2 separate regions of the Homo sapiens genome follow, and region 2 is linked to region 1. Evidence: promoter capture Hi-C in human tissues and cell types (Jung and others, 2019). All regions are on one chromosome and are shown on one strand. Each heading gives the region's core, a stretch centred on a gene start or on the middle of the fragment in contact. The rest is flanking DNA. Distances are from core to core; before and after follow the strand shown.

The links. Contacts are between HindIII fragments. The study calls those that stand out against the background at their distance.
Region 2: a contact is called between a fragment that was not itself captured here and the fragment with the promoter of FOXI2 in region 1, in 2 of the 25 tissues and cell types used here (hippocampus and pancreas).

The regions. Positions count from the first base shown.
Region 1 is chr10:127,733,300-127,739,368 of GRCh38, reverse strand. FOXI2 (forkhead box I2) reads right to left here and starts at 2,184. Exons shown (of 2, transcript NM_207426.3): 1 at 1,585-2,184; 2 at 1-849. The coding sequence starts at 2,095. The coding sequence ends at 404. The HindIII fragment of the contact is 23,826 bases long and covers 1-6,069 here.
Region 2 is chr10:127,783,338-127,789,406 of GRCh38, reverse strand. No RefSeq gene overlaps it. Among named protein-coding and RNA genes, the nearest start is that of FOXI2, 49 kb to the right of the region's middle. The HindIII fragment of the contact is 6,201 bases long and covers 235-6,069 here.

The sequences.
Region 1 (6,069 bases), core at 935-3,434:
CTGGGCCGCTCTGGCAGCCCACCTTCTTCCCATCTGCTCTAAGGCTCTTTGGAGTCAGCCAGCCTCCTTGGAAAACGCTGGAGCTGAGGGCCGACCCGCCGCCCCTTCAAGGCAAATCCCTCGAGAGCACAGGTTCTAGACGCCCAGGGCGGCTGGACTTAGAGGCAGAGCAGGGAGGTTCCGAAGGTCGCCTGGGTGAGGGGTGCACAGCAGAAGGGCCACCCACCCCAAAGCCCAAGAGCCGCTCAGCCCAGCTCCCTGCTGGCCGAGCCGCCCCCGGCTCTGCGCTTCCTCCCAGGGCACCAAGGCCTTCAACGCCAACACGTGGGGCTGTCACCAGGGGAAACCGGAGGCCTGAGCTCAGCACCTCTGGACCCGCACCCGGCTAGCCTCCAGCCTCCCTTCAAACTTCGGTCCCTTCCCGGCTGTAGAGGAGGTGACTGAGGCGGAAGCCGGCGGCCGCGGTCTGGTGGCCAGGGGCGAAGCCAGGGGAGGGGTTAAGGGTCTGGGGAGCGTGGGTGGCGACTGTCGGTGGCCGCCTCCCGAAAGAAAAGTCGCCCGCCAGGCCCCCGGGGAAGGTGCCAAGGCCGCCAGCCAGAGCGCTCATAGCAGAAGCGAAACCGGAGAAGCAGGTGGCGGCCTCGGGTGCGGATGGAGAGGGCGAGGCCTGCAGGTCCAGGCAAGCCGCGCTCGGGGGCTCCAGCGCTGGCGCCTCGGCCCCTCCCACGCTCCTGGCTCCCGAGCGCACGGCCGCGCTGGCTTCAGCTCTCCTCTTCCTCTTCCTTCGGAAGTTCCCGTTGTCAAACATCTTCTCGCAGTTGGGGTCCAGGGTCCAGTAATTGCCTTTACCTGCAGAAGAAGAAACAGCCCAGTTCAGAAGGTTCGAGCTTTGACGGGCCGTGGTGTGAGCCAGCGAGGAGGTCAGCTTCAGAAAGATCCCCTGCTGGCCCTTACAGAGGGTCTGAGTCCTCGCCCCCATTCCACCCTTGACGGGCACTCTGTACCCGATGGGCCTCCACAGCAGGACTGGGAAGAAAGTGACAATCCAGAAAGGAGGAGGAAGGGAGCCCTGGGAAAGGCCGAGCCCCGTTAAGGTGAAGGAAGGCCTGCGAGATGCTAATGGTGGGACTCCGCCAGCCGCTCTGCCAAGGACAGCGCAGACCACGCCAGGCCCCCAGGTAGGCTCCAGAGCTTTCCAAACGGGCATCCTATTTGTTTTGCCCATCCTTGGGGTAGGCGCTGTCTTCCCCATTTTACCAGGTAGGGCACTGAGGCCCAGGGAAGTTGAGTCACTCCCAAGGTCACCCAGCTTGCTGGCTCTCCCGCTTCTTCCTCCGAAGGAGCGCACAGAGATTGAGAGCCCCGGGACCGCCGCACTGTAAACGCGGGCCTGTGGTGGGCTCAGCCGCTGTCTGAGAACCTGTCCATGCCCAAGCACTTCTTCCCCTTCTCCCTCCTCCCCGGGTATCCCCAACCGCGCAGGGAGAAATTAGGTTGTCTAAGGTGCTCCCACCCCCGGAGTGCCCGCGGCCCGGCGGGAAGATGGGGAGTCCTGGACGGAGCGAGCCGGCGCGCCGCTGTTACCTGGGTCGTCCTCGTCGCGGGGCACCTTCTTGAAGCAGTCGTTGAGCGACAGGTTGTGGCGGATGGAGTTCTGCCAGCCCGCCTTGCTGCGCTTGTAGAAAGGGAAGTTACCAGCCACGTACTGGTAGATCTGGCTGAGCGTCAGCTTCCGCAGCGGCGCGCTCTGGATGGCCATGGCGATGAGCGCCGAGTAGGAGTAGGGCGGCCGCACCAGCCTCAGCAGCTCCTGCTGGCCGGAGAGGCTCAGCCAGGCGAGGTCGGCGCCCGCCAGGCCGCCCGGGGCGCCGAGGAGCGGGCCGGGAGCCCCGTAGCTCGGGGCCGCGTAGGGCGGCGCAGGCCCGGGACCCGAAGCGTAGGACTTGGGGCTGAGCGCTGGCGCGTTCACCCACAGGAGGGGGCCCCCGCCCACCGCGCCCAGATCCCCTGGCTCATAGCCCGGGGGGTGCGCGGTGGCCTGGGCCTGGCCGGGCGGGGCCGAGGAGGGGCCCAGGTCGTCGCAGTAGGTGGCCATGTCCAGCCGCGCCCGGGCCTGGGCCAGCGGTGCCGCACCGAAACTCACTGGCGACCCATCCAGCTTGGCCGCCAGCAGCGCCCGGGTGCGACCAGCCCGGCCCAGCCCTCCGCCCTTTAAACACCGTCGGGGCCAGAGCCCATGGAGAGTGACGGTGGCGAGCCCCTCCCCTGGCAGCCCTGGAGGAGCGAAATCCTTGTCCTCGCCCTGGTGTCAGTTTTCCGCCCCGCCCAGGCCTGACACGTCCTGGACCGGACGCCCCTCTGATTCCCCCTTCCTCCTTTGTGCGATCCGTCCCGAGTCCACAGTCGCTCGCGGTCTTGGTTGCAGGGACCCTAAGTCCGTAGCCTCGTCTGGCTTCACGGGCCCCGCAGCCCCGACTGCCCTGGACCGTACCACGACTCCTCAAGGCCCCCAGGGCTGTGGCTTGGGAGCCCCGTCCAATGCGCGGCCCCTTTGCTCGGCTCGGGACATCTCGCCCCAAAGAAACTCGCCTCGCCGGGGCCCCTGGGTTACCCGGGACTCGGGGCTAGGGATAGAGGGCGACTACACTGCGCAAGAGATCGCAATGAAGTCCGTAGATCTCCAGGCTGGAGCCGCAGAGCGAGGTGGCGAGGTGGAGAACGCGGGGCTGGGCCTGGACAGCGGCCCTGGGGTCGTCTGGAGTCCTCGCTCCCTCAACCCGGAAGGCAGCGGACTGACATCTGCGCCGAAGTCGCGCGTACCCCACGGAGGGTCGGGACCCTGGAAATTTCGAACGCCCCAGCAGTTCAGGGCAGTCATCGCTTTTCCCAAGCCGGGGAGTCCGGGGCCCCGCCAGGTTTCTCCGCGCTGTGACCTCGGGCGCGCAGAGCGGAGAGCGCCAAGCTCTCTGCTGGGTGTCGGAGGACGCGCCGAAAACAGGGACGTCTCTGCAGTGCGTCCGACACCAGCTCTCCAGTCCTGCTGCCGCCCGGGGTTGCTGCAGCCCGGGTTATCCCGGCCCCCCAAGCTGCCCGGCTTTCGGCCTCCCCTGCTCCCCGCGCTGTGGGGTGGCGGAGGATGGACCCAGGCTGACGCTGGGCTGGGTACCTGGAAAGAGGGCCCGCCTCCCGGACTCCGAGTCGGGCACCTGTGCGAAAGAGGCGAAAATTCAGGCCTGGTGCTCAAGGCTCAGAGATGAGGAGACCTCCCCATCCCCCCAGATTCCTGCCGGCGGTGTTGGCGCTGACCTCCTGGAAGCTGGCCTCGCCCTGGGTATTCCCCAGCGTTACGCGGGCCTGTGGATCTAATTTTAATTCATTTGTAAAACAAAAGGACCAACCCTTCCCGACTTTTGGCGGTGGAGGAGGCTTGTAGGTTGAGGCCAGCGGTTCGATCGAGGAAAGAGTTTGGGTTTGGGGATTAAAGGGCCCATTTGAGTCAGCGACTTACTGGTGGTGCAGCCCCTCGGCCTCCCAGATCGTAGTTCCAAATTTTATGTAAAACAACTAATTTATGGAACAATTTAACAAATGGCAGAAAGAAGTGAGAGTCCCTCTGTTGGGACGTTGGCCTCTCGCCTTAGAAGTGAAGCCCCTTCAGAAGTGGTGGGTGAACCGAAGGCATTTCCCAAGCAGTCAAGAGAAAAGAAATACCCCAAAATGGTTCTTTGAGGTCGGCTTTTCGGCTGGACTCTGCCCCCTTTTCCTTCCCCCTTTCCCAAAGATTTCTGATTTTTGTCAAAGGAATGCTAGTTGTGGGGGTCCCAGGTGCCTTTTACGAAGCCGCCCTCCCCTTCCATCCCCGTCGTTGCAGGGGCGGTTGCGGGGTCAACGGGAAGTACTCGGGGTGGGACACGCCTCTTCTTGCTGAGTCTCAGGTGAACACAGTCTATTGCTTCCACCCAAAAGAGCAGCCAGTGCCACCTGCCACTCAGCTTAGCGATTTCCAGTGCCCCCCTCAGGGGAAACCATGCTGCTGTCCGTAGGTGTGACCAGCTTTTTGGTGACTACCTCTTGAAGAAAGTGTCTTTCCCTCAGCACATGTGTAGCAAACAGGACTTGGATCCTCTCCTTATGGTGCAAACCCATATCACCGCCTATAGACACCCACTTTCCTCCCATAACACCCTTCCGGAGCTTGCCAGAGGGTCTGGGATGACTCCACACCTTCAGGAATTTTGAAACGGCTGCTGATTAGGACTCAGTTTTTGAGTCCGTGCTTGATGAGGATGTACAGAGGCTGCACAGCTCTGCCTTGACCCAAATCATCCCAGAGAGAGTGCGAAGGTGGGAGCTGCAGCCGGACCCGCAGGGCCACCGGCATGGCAGGTTCTGCAAGAGCCCGCCTGGCCGTCCCTGCTTTCTAGCGGCTGACGTGAAGTACTGGACAAAAGCAGCTGCTCCTTGTCAAGGATTTCCATTGTCCAAGGCTGTGTACGTAGAAGACACCTATTTTGGTGGAATAACACAATGATTTGACAGGAAGAACTAATTTTATCTGCAGTTAACTGCTCTACTGTGAGAATAATATCAGAGATGTTGAATTTTAAAGAATAGCTTGGGTCATCTTTTGCAATGTAAAGGAATTTTTTCAAAAAAGACGGCAGCTCCTTCCACATTCTCTTGAATTTTAATAGCCTTTCTTTCTGTAAATACTATAACTCTGTAACACTCGTGAGTTTCAGGACCTCTAAGAAAATCAAATGAAACTTCCTGTAATTTCCTTTAATTATACTTTACAGAAATCATTAAAATTTGTGCCATGGATATATGTGTCCATATCTTTTTCACCCTTCTTTGCTCTCTGAGCCCAATTTCCATCTTCCATCTCCACTGTGATAGTTTTCTTATCTTTCAACAGACTGGACTCATAAAATGAATTTCAGTAGAGGGACTGCAGTCATTTTGGGGGAAAATGTGTTAACCCTTAAATGGTCTTGCATGGAACTTTGATGAGAATTTTTCTAAGAGAAAAAAAAAATATCGGGAGAGAAATCACAAGGACAAAGACTGTGCCCTGTCTGGGAGTCCTGCTGGGGTTCTCTAAACAGAGCAGCCCTCCACACCCCTCTCAGGCCTCTGATCCATTTTCTTCTCCTTTATTCTCAAAAGTGACCCCCGCTGCCTACATGGAGGATAAGTCTCCCCAACCTCCCACCTTTCAAATTGCCAAGCCCACCTCCAGCTGCACCTACACCTGTTGCTGGGGGCACCTCTTCTCCTTCTCCATCATCAGGCCAGTCTCTCCTGGGCAGGACTGGGACTCAGGTGCACACCTGGGATGCAGCACTTAGGGGACACTCACTGCTTGGGCCTGGAAGAGACGTTGTGCCCTTAGTTCTCTTCTCACACTTTTCTCAGGGGCCTCACTCTGTGATCTCCTCCTCTCTCTTCTTCCCATCAGCATTTGCAGATCTCAATTCTCTCCGTGGCAACAAATCCCTTCAGCCCACATCCCTTTTGAGGTGTCTCCAGGTCTTCAGAAGCCTGGTCTCTGGTGGCTGTTGCCCCAACCTCCTCTCTCAAGAGCACACTCTTCACTCAGCACAGACAGCCGTCCACCCCCACGACTCAACTGAAACTGCTCAGGCACAGCCTCTGGTGGCCTTGGTCACCCTAAATCCAATGATGGTTTTTACTCCTCATTTTGCTTGACTCGCAGCAGCCCTTGACACCCGCCAGAATCAACACCTCTTTCTCTGCCTGCTTTTCAACACTGTTCATCTGGTTGACCTCCCCTTCTCTGGCTTCTTCTCGGGCTCTGGGCTGGCTTGCCTTGCTCTGAGGCTGGGGTTCTGCAGGGCTCCATTCTGGGTCCTCTTCTTCACTCCTGTGGCTTTAATTTCTGGCCTCTGGTTCAGGGTTTGTCAACCTCAGCACTATTGACATTTGGGGCTAGGTAAACCTTTGTTGTCCTGTGTGTTGTGGGATTTTTAGCAGTACTCCTGCTTTCTACCTGCTCAATGTGGACAACGCCTCCACTATTATGGCAACCAAAAATGTCTTCAGACA
Region 2 (6,069 bases), core at 2,086-4,585, 49 kb before region 1:
TACCTAATAGATATATCAAACTTTATCCCATTCTACCTGTGAATACATCTATTTTTTCACTGTTTATGATGCACCATTAACAAACATTGATGTAGGTTAGACTACAAATAGCTCAATAAATTCCTTCCAAATGTAGAACAGATGCAGACCCTCTGGCATAATGCAATATACTTGTAATTTTTAACGAGTATATTGTATTTTTAACAAATACAAAACTGAAAAACTCAAGGAAATTTTAAGTACTTTAAAATATTTAAAATTTCAGAAAAATCTCTCAACTATTTGTACTGACAGTGCCTTAGTCAGTTCGGGCTTTCATAGCAGAATACCATAGACGGGCTGGCTTAAATAACTGAAATTAATTGCTTGCAGTTCTCGTGGCTGGAATTCTGAGATCAAGTTGCCAGCACGGTTGGGTTCTGGTGAAGGCTCTCTCTCTGGTTCACAGATAGTTATCTTCTTGCTGTGTCCTCTCATCGGGGAGAGTAGAAAGTGGGAAAGCAGAGGCTCTCCTGTCTTTTTATAAGGGCACTGCTTGACCTAGTTACATTCCAAAAGTTCCAGCTCCTAATACCATCACATTGGGGGCCAGGATTTCAACATATAAATTTTGGGCAAACATCCACTTCATAGGAGGCAGAGAAGGGAAGCAGTCACTTGAGCCCCTGAAGATAATAATCTTTAAAAAATGGGTTAAAATAGAAAAACCAACTCTTTAAAGACACTAGGAAGCATCCAAAAACAAATAGAAGCCAAGGGAGTTTAATTTCAAAAGATTGCAAAGGGAAGTGGCAGCAATTTTGAGTTTGTGGCTCATGAGCACCAGAAGGATGATCAACCCCAATTATGGCTCTTAGGAATGATGGCTGGACAAAACATGGCCTTCCTGCCAGAAGTCAGAGTTCAGAGCTGAAAAAACAGCTGAAAATTGAAAGTGGAAATTATGGCAATACCAACACCTCAGAAAAGGTAAGACCCAAATTCAGGAATAAGCTCCAAAACTCTGGCTGATGCTAAATATGCCATTGTAGATGAGACCACAAGGGACCCCATAAAAAGCAACAAGAGGATGGAGAGAACTAGATTCTTGAAAGATAATCCACACATCTATGTAGAAACACAGAAGTGAGTTTGATACTTTTAAAAAACTGTCTGTATTCTCCAGTTATGAGGAGACTGAGTGACAGCTGAAGTTGAGTGGGCTTGAAATGTTACAATGCAGAGCCCAAATCCAGCAGAGTAACTGAAAATGAGAATCTCTACAAGGAAGAAAAACAGAGAGGTGAAGCCTCATCTCTGCTTAAATTATTGTCTGACCACCAAATTTCACAAGCACAGGGGAGACATACAGGTGGCAACCTACGAACGGAGCAGAGGAAGCCCTATGAATACACAGCAGCAGCTGCTTACTGGGGGGAGATGGAATTTGCAGTATGAATCCAGAAAAAAACCAATAATCCTCAGAAAAATTATCATACACTTATTACCACATGTAATTTACATTTTCTAGTTTTAAACCAAAAATCACTAGACATGTAAAGAAATAGGAAAGTATGACACATAGGAAGAAAAGAAGTCAACAGAAATTGACTTCTTTCCTTATTGTTGGAGCTGTTTGTTGAATTCATAGATGCTATGATATATATATTCAGAGAATTAAAATAAAATACATTTAAATAATTGGAGAAAATATGCTAGTAATGAATGGATAGACAAACTCAATAGAGGAAAGCAAACAATAAAAAGTCTTGGAGCAAAGAGTTCAATAATGAAATAAAAATTTGCTAGTTGGGTGCAACAGCACTTTATAAAGAGCAGAAGAATAAATAAACTTGACGATGGATTAATAAAAATTACTAATAAAAAATAAAAATAAAAATGTGACAAAAAGAGAGAACAAGTATTGAAGATTAATGAACGAAACTTCAGAGACCTATGGACAATATGAGGCGGCCCAACATACGTGTATGGGAATCTCAGGAAAGAAAAGAGAGAAAACAGAAAAAGTATCTATTTGATAAAATAAATTTGGTGGAAATCATTATTTTATAGATTCAAGGATCTCAACAAACCTCTTGCAGTACAAACACCAAAAAGTTGTTTCTAAACATACATAGTCAAATGCTGAAAGCCAAAAAGACAGAGGAACAATATTGAAAGCGTTAAGAAACAAAGAAACATATCACAGATAGAGGGGCAGTGACAAGATTAAGGGCTGACTTCTTTTCAAAACCTTGGGAACTAGAAGACATTGGAAAAAAATATTCAAAGTGCTGAATAAAACCAAACCAAACCAAACAAACAAATAAAACTCTCTCAATTAAAAATTTGATGTCCAGTGGAATCATCTGTCAAAAATAAAGGTAAGATAAAAACATGTTCAGATAAACAAAAAACTGAGAGAAATTGGTAGAAGCAGACACGTACAACAACAACAAATTGGTAAGGCAAATTCTTCAGGCTGAAGGAAAACAGCACAAATAACGCTGATTTACCAGAGGCATGAAGAGTACCAGAAATGTTGAGTATGTGGCTACATGAAAGACATTATTAATATATACATTGTCTCTTAATTTTCTTGAAAGATCTGTGACTTTGTAAAGCAAATATGATGGCACTGTATTGATGGATTTGTAACACCTATAGATGAAATCTATAAGGCAATAATATCACAAAGAAGGTGTGTGGGGATACACAGAAATATATAGTTTTGAGTTTCCTGTATTTTACTTGCAATAATTCAATATTAACTTTAAGTAGTTTGATGAAAATTTAAGATGTATATTGTAACTCTTAGAGCAACCACTAAAAAGTAATGCAAAGAGGTAGCTACAAAGCCACTAAAGGAATTAAAATGAAATATTGAAATATTTCTCTCTATATATTTCTCTCTCTCTCACAGACACACACACACACACACACACACACACACACACACACAATCTCTCTCTCTCTCAAGGCAGGGCATGAAGAAGAGATGAAAAATAAACAAATAAGACAAACTCTAAAAATAGTAAAATAGCAATCTTAAATACAATAATATTAATAATTGAAATGAACTAGATACTTTTCAAAAGACAGTATAGAAATTCAAGAACTATTAATATATACTATTACAAGATATTTACTTTGAATATAAAAACAAATCGACTGAAAGTTACAGCCTGGTTAAGGATACCCTATGAAGACTTTGAACGGGAGTTGCTACATTGATACCATACAAAATAGATTTAAAGGCTGGACATATTACTACAAAGAGGAACATTTTGTACATCAAGACAATATAACTACATTTTGCTATGAAAAGAAATTGTGTATATGTGAGATCAAATCTATCAATCCTTTTTCTTTTTTTCTTTTTTTTTTTTTTTGAGACAGAGTCTCACTCTGTCGCCCAGATTGGAGTGCAATATCCTGGTCTCAGCTCACTGTAACCGCCACCTCCCAGGTTCAAATGATTCTCCTGCCTCAGCCTCCTGTCTCAGCCTCCTGTCCCAGCTGGGACTATAGACGTGTGCCACCACACCCAGCTAATTTTTTTGTATTTTTACTAGAGGCTGAAGTACAGTGGTGCAATCACAGCTCACCGCAGCCTTGCCAGGGCTCAGGTGATCCTCCCACCTCAGCCTCCCAAGTAGCGGGGACTACAGGCACAGACCACCATGCTGAGCTATTTTTTGTAGAGACAGGGTTTCACTATATTGCTCAGGCTGGTCTTGAACTTCTGGGCTCAAGAGATCCAACCACCTCGGCACTCCCAAGTGCTGGGATTACAGGCGTGAGCCACTGCACCTGGCCTGTCAATCCTTTCTCTTACTGTTTTTGGGTTTTGACTTTTCTCCACTCCCATATTAAAGACAGATTCACTCACAGTTTCTTCTAGTACTTAAAAGGTTTCATTTTTTTTTACATTTACATTTCTGATCCTGTTTCACCAACATAAAAAAATATAGAATAATCATTAGAAATTTTTGCCTCGGCCGGGTGCAGTGGCTCACACCTGTAATCGCAGCACTTTGGGAGAGCCGAGCTGGGTGGATCTCTTGAGCCCAGGAGTTGAAGACCAGCCTGAGCAACATAGTGAAACCCTGTCTCTACAAAAAATAGTTCAGCATGGTGGCCTGCGCCTGTAGTCTCAGCTACTTGGGAGGCTGGGGTGAGAGGATCACCTGAGCCCTGGCAAGGCTGCAGTGAGCTGTGATTGCACCACTGTACTCCAGCCTGGGTGACGGAGTGAAACTCTCTCTCAAAGAAAAAAAAAATTATGGCTCTACTGTATTTTATTTTCTTTTTACCTTTTATTTTAAGTTCAGGGGTATATGTACAGGTTTGTAACGTAGGTAAGCTTTTATCATGGGATTTTTTTGTACAAGTTATTTTATTACCCAGGTATTAAGCTTAGTACCCACTATTTATTATTCCTAATTCTCTCCTCCCAACCTCCTCCCACCCTCCACCTTCTGAAGAGCCCCAGTGTGTGTTGTTTACCTTTATGTGTCCATGTGTTTTCATCATTCAGCTCCCGCTTGTAAGTGAGAACACATGATACTTGGTTTTCTGTTCCTGTGTTAGTTTGCTAAGGACAATAGCCCCCAGCTACCTCCATGTCCCTGCAAAGAACATGATCTCACCTCTTTTTTATGGCTGCATAGTATTCCATGGTGTATATGTACCACATTTTAAAAATCCAGCCTATCACTGCTGGACTTTAAGGTTGATTCCATGCCTTTGCTAATATGAAAATAGATGCAATGAACACATGCATGCATGTGTCTTTATAACATAATGATTTATATTCCTCTGAGTATATACCCAGTAATGAGATTGCTGGGTTGAATGGTATTTTTGTCTTTAGATCTTTGAGGAATTGCCACACTGTCTTCCACAATGGCTGAACTAATTTACACTCCCACCAACAGTGTATGAGTGTTCCTTTTTCTCTACAACCTTGCCAGTATCTGTTATTTTTTTGACTTTTTAGTATTAGCCATTATGACTGGTGTTAGATGGTATCTCATTGTGGTTTTGATTTGCATTTCACTAATGATCAGTGATGTTGAGCTTTTTTTCATGTGAGTGCTGGCCACATGTATGTCTTCTTTTGAAAAGTGTCTGTTCATGTCCTTTGCCCACTTTTAATTGGGTTGTGTTTATTTTCTTATAAATTTGTTTAAGTTTCTTATAGCTACTGGATATTAAACCTAGTTGGATGCATAGTTTGCAAAAATTTTCTCCCAATCAGTAGGCTGTTTACTTTGTTGATAATTTCTTTTCTTTAGCTTCTTTTTACTTTAATTAGATCCCATTTGCCAATTTTTGCTTTTGTTGAAATTGCTTTTGGCATCTTTGTCATGAAATATTTGCCTGTGCCTACATCCTGAATAGTATTGCCTAGGTTGTCTCCCAGGGTTTTTATAGCTTTGGGTTTTACATTTAAGTCTTTAATCCATCTTGAGTTGATTCTTGTATATGGTGTAAGGAGGGGGTCCAGTTTCAATCTTCTGCATATGGCTAGCCATTTATGCCAGCACCATTTATTGAATAGGGAATCCGTTCCCCATTGCTTGCTTTTGTCAGGTTTATCTAAGATCAGATAGTTGTAGGTGTGAAGTCTTATTCCTGGGTTCTCTATTCTGTTCCATTGGTCTATGTATCTGTTCTGGTACCAGTACCATACTGTTTTGGCTACTGTAGCTCTGTAGTAGAGTTTGCAGTCGGGTAGCATGATGTCTCCAGCTTTGTTCTTTTTGCTTAGGATTGTCTTGGCTATTTGGGCTTATTTTTGGTTCCATATGAATTTTAAAATAGTTTTCTCAAATTCTGTGAAGAATGTCAATAGTAGTCTAATAGGAATAGCATTGAATCTACAAGTTGCTTTGGGCAGTATGGACATTTTCGCAATATTGATTGTTCCTATCCATGAGCATGGAATGTTTTTCCATTTGTTTGTGTCATCTCTTATTTCTTTGAGCAGTGGTTTGTAGTTCTCCTTGTAGAGATCTTTCACCCTGCTGCTGAGCTGTATTCCTAAGGATTTTATTGTTTCTGTGGCAATTGTGAACGGGAGTT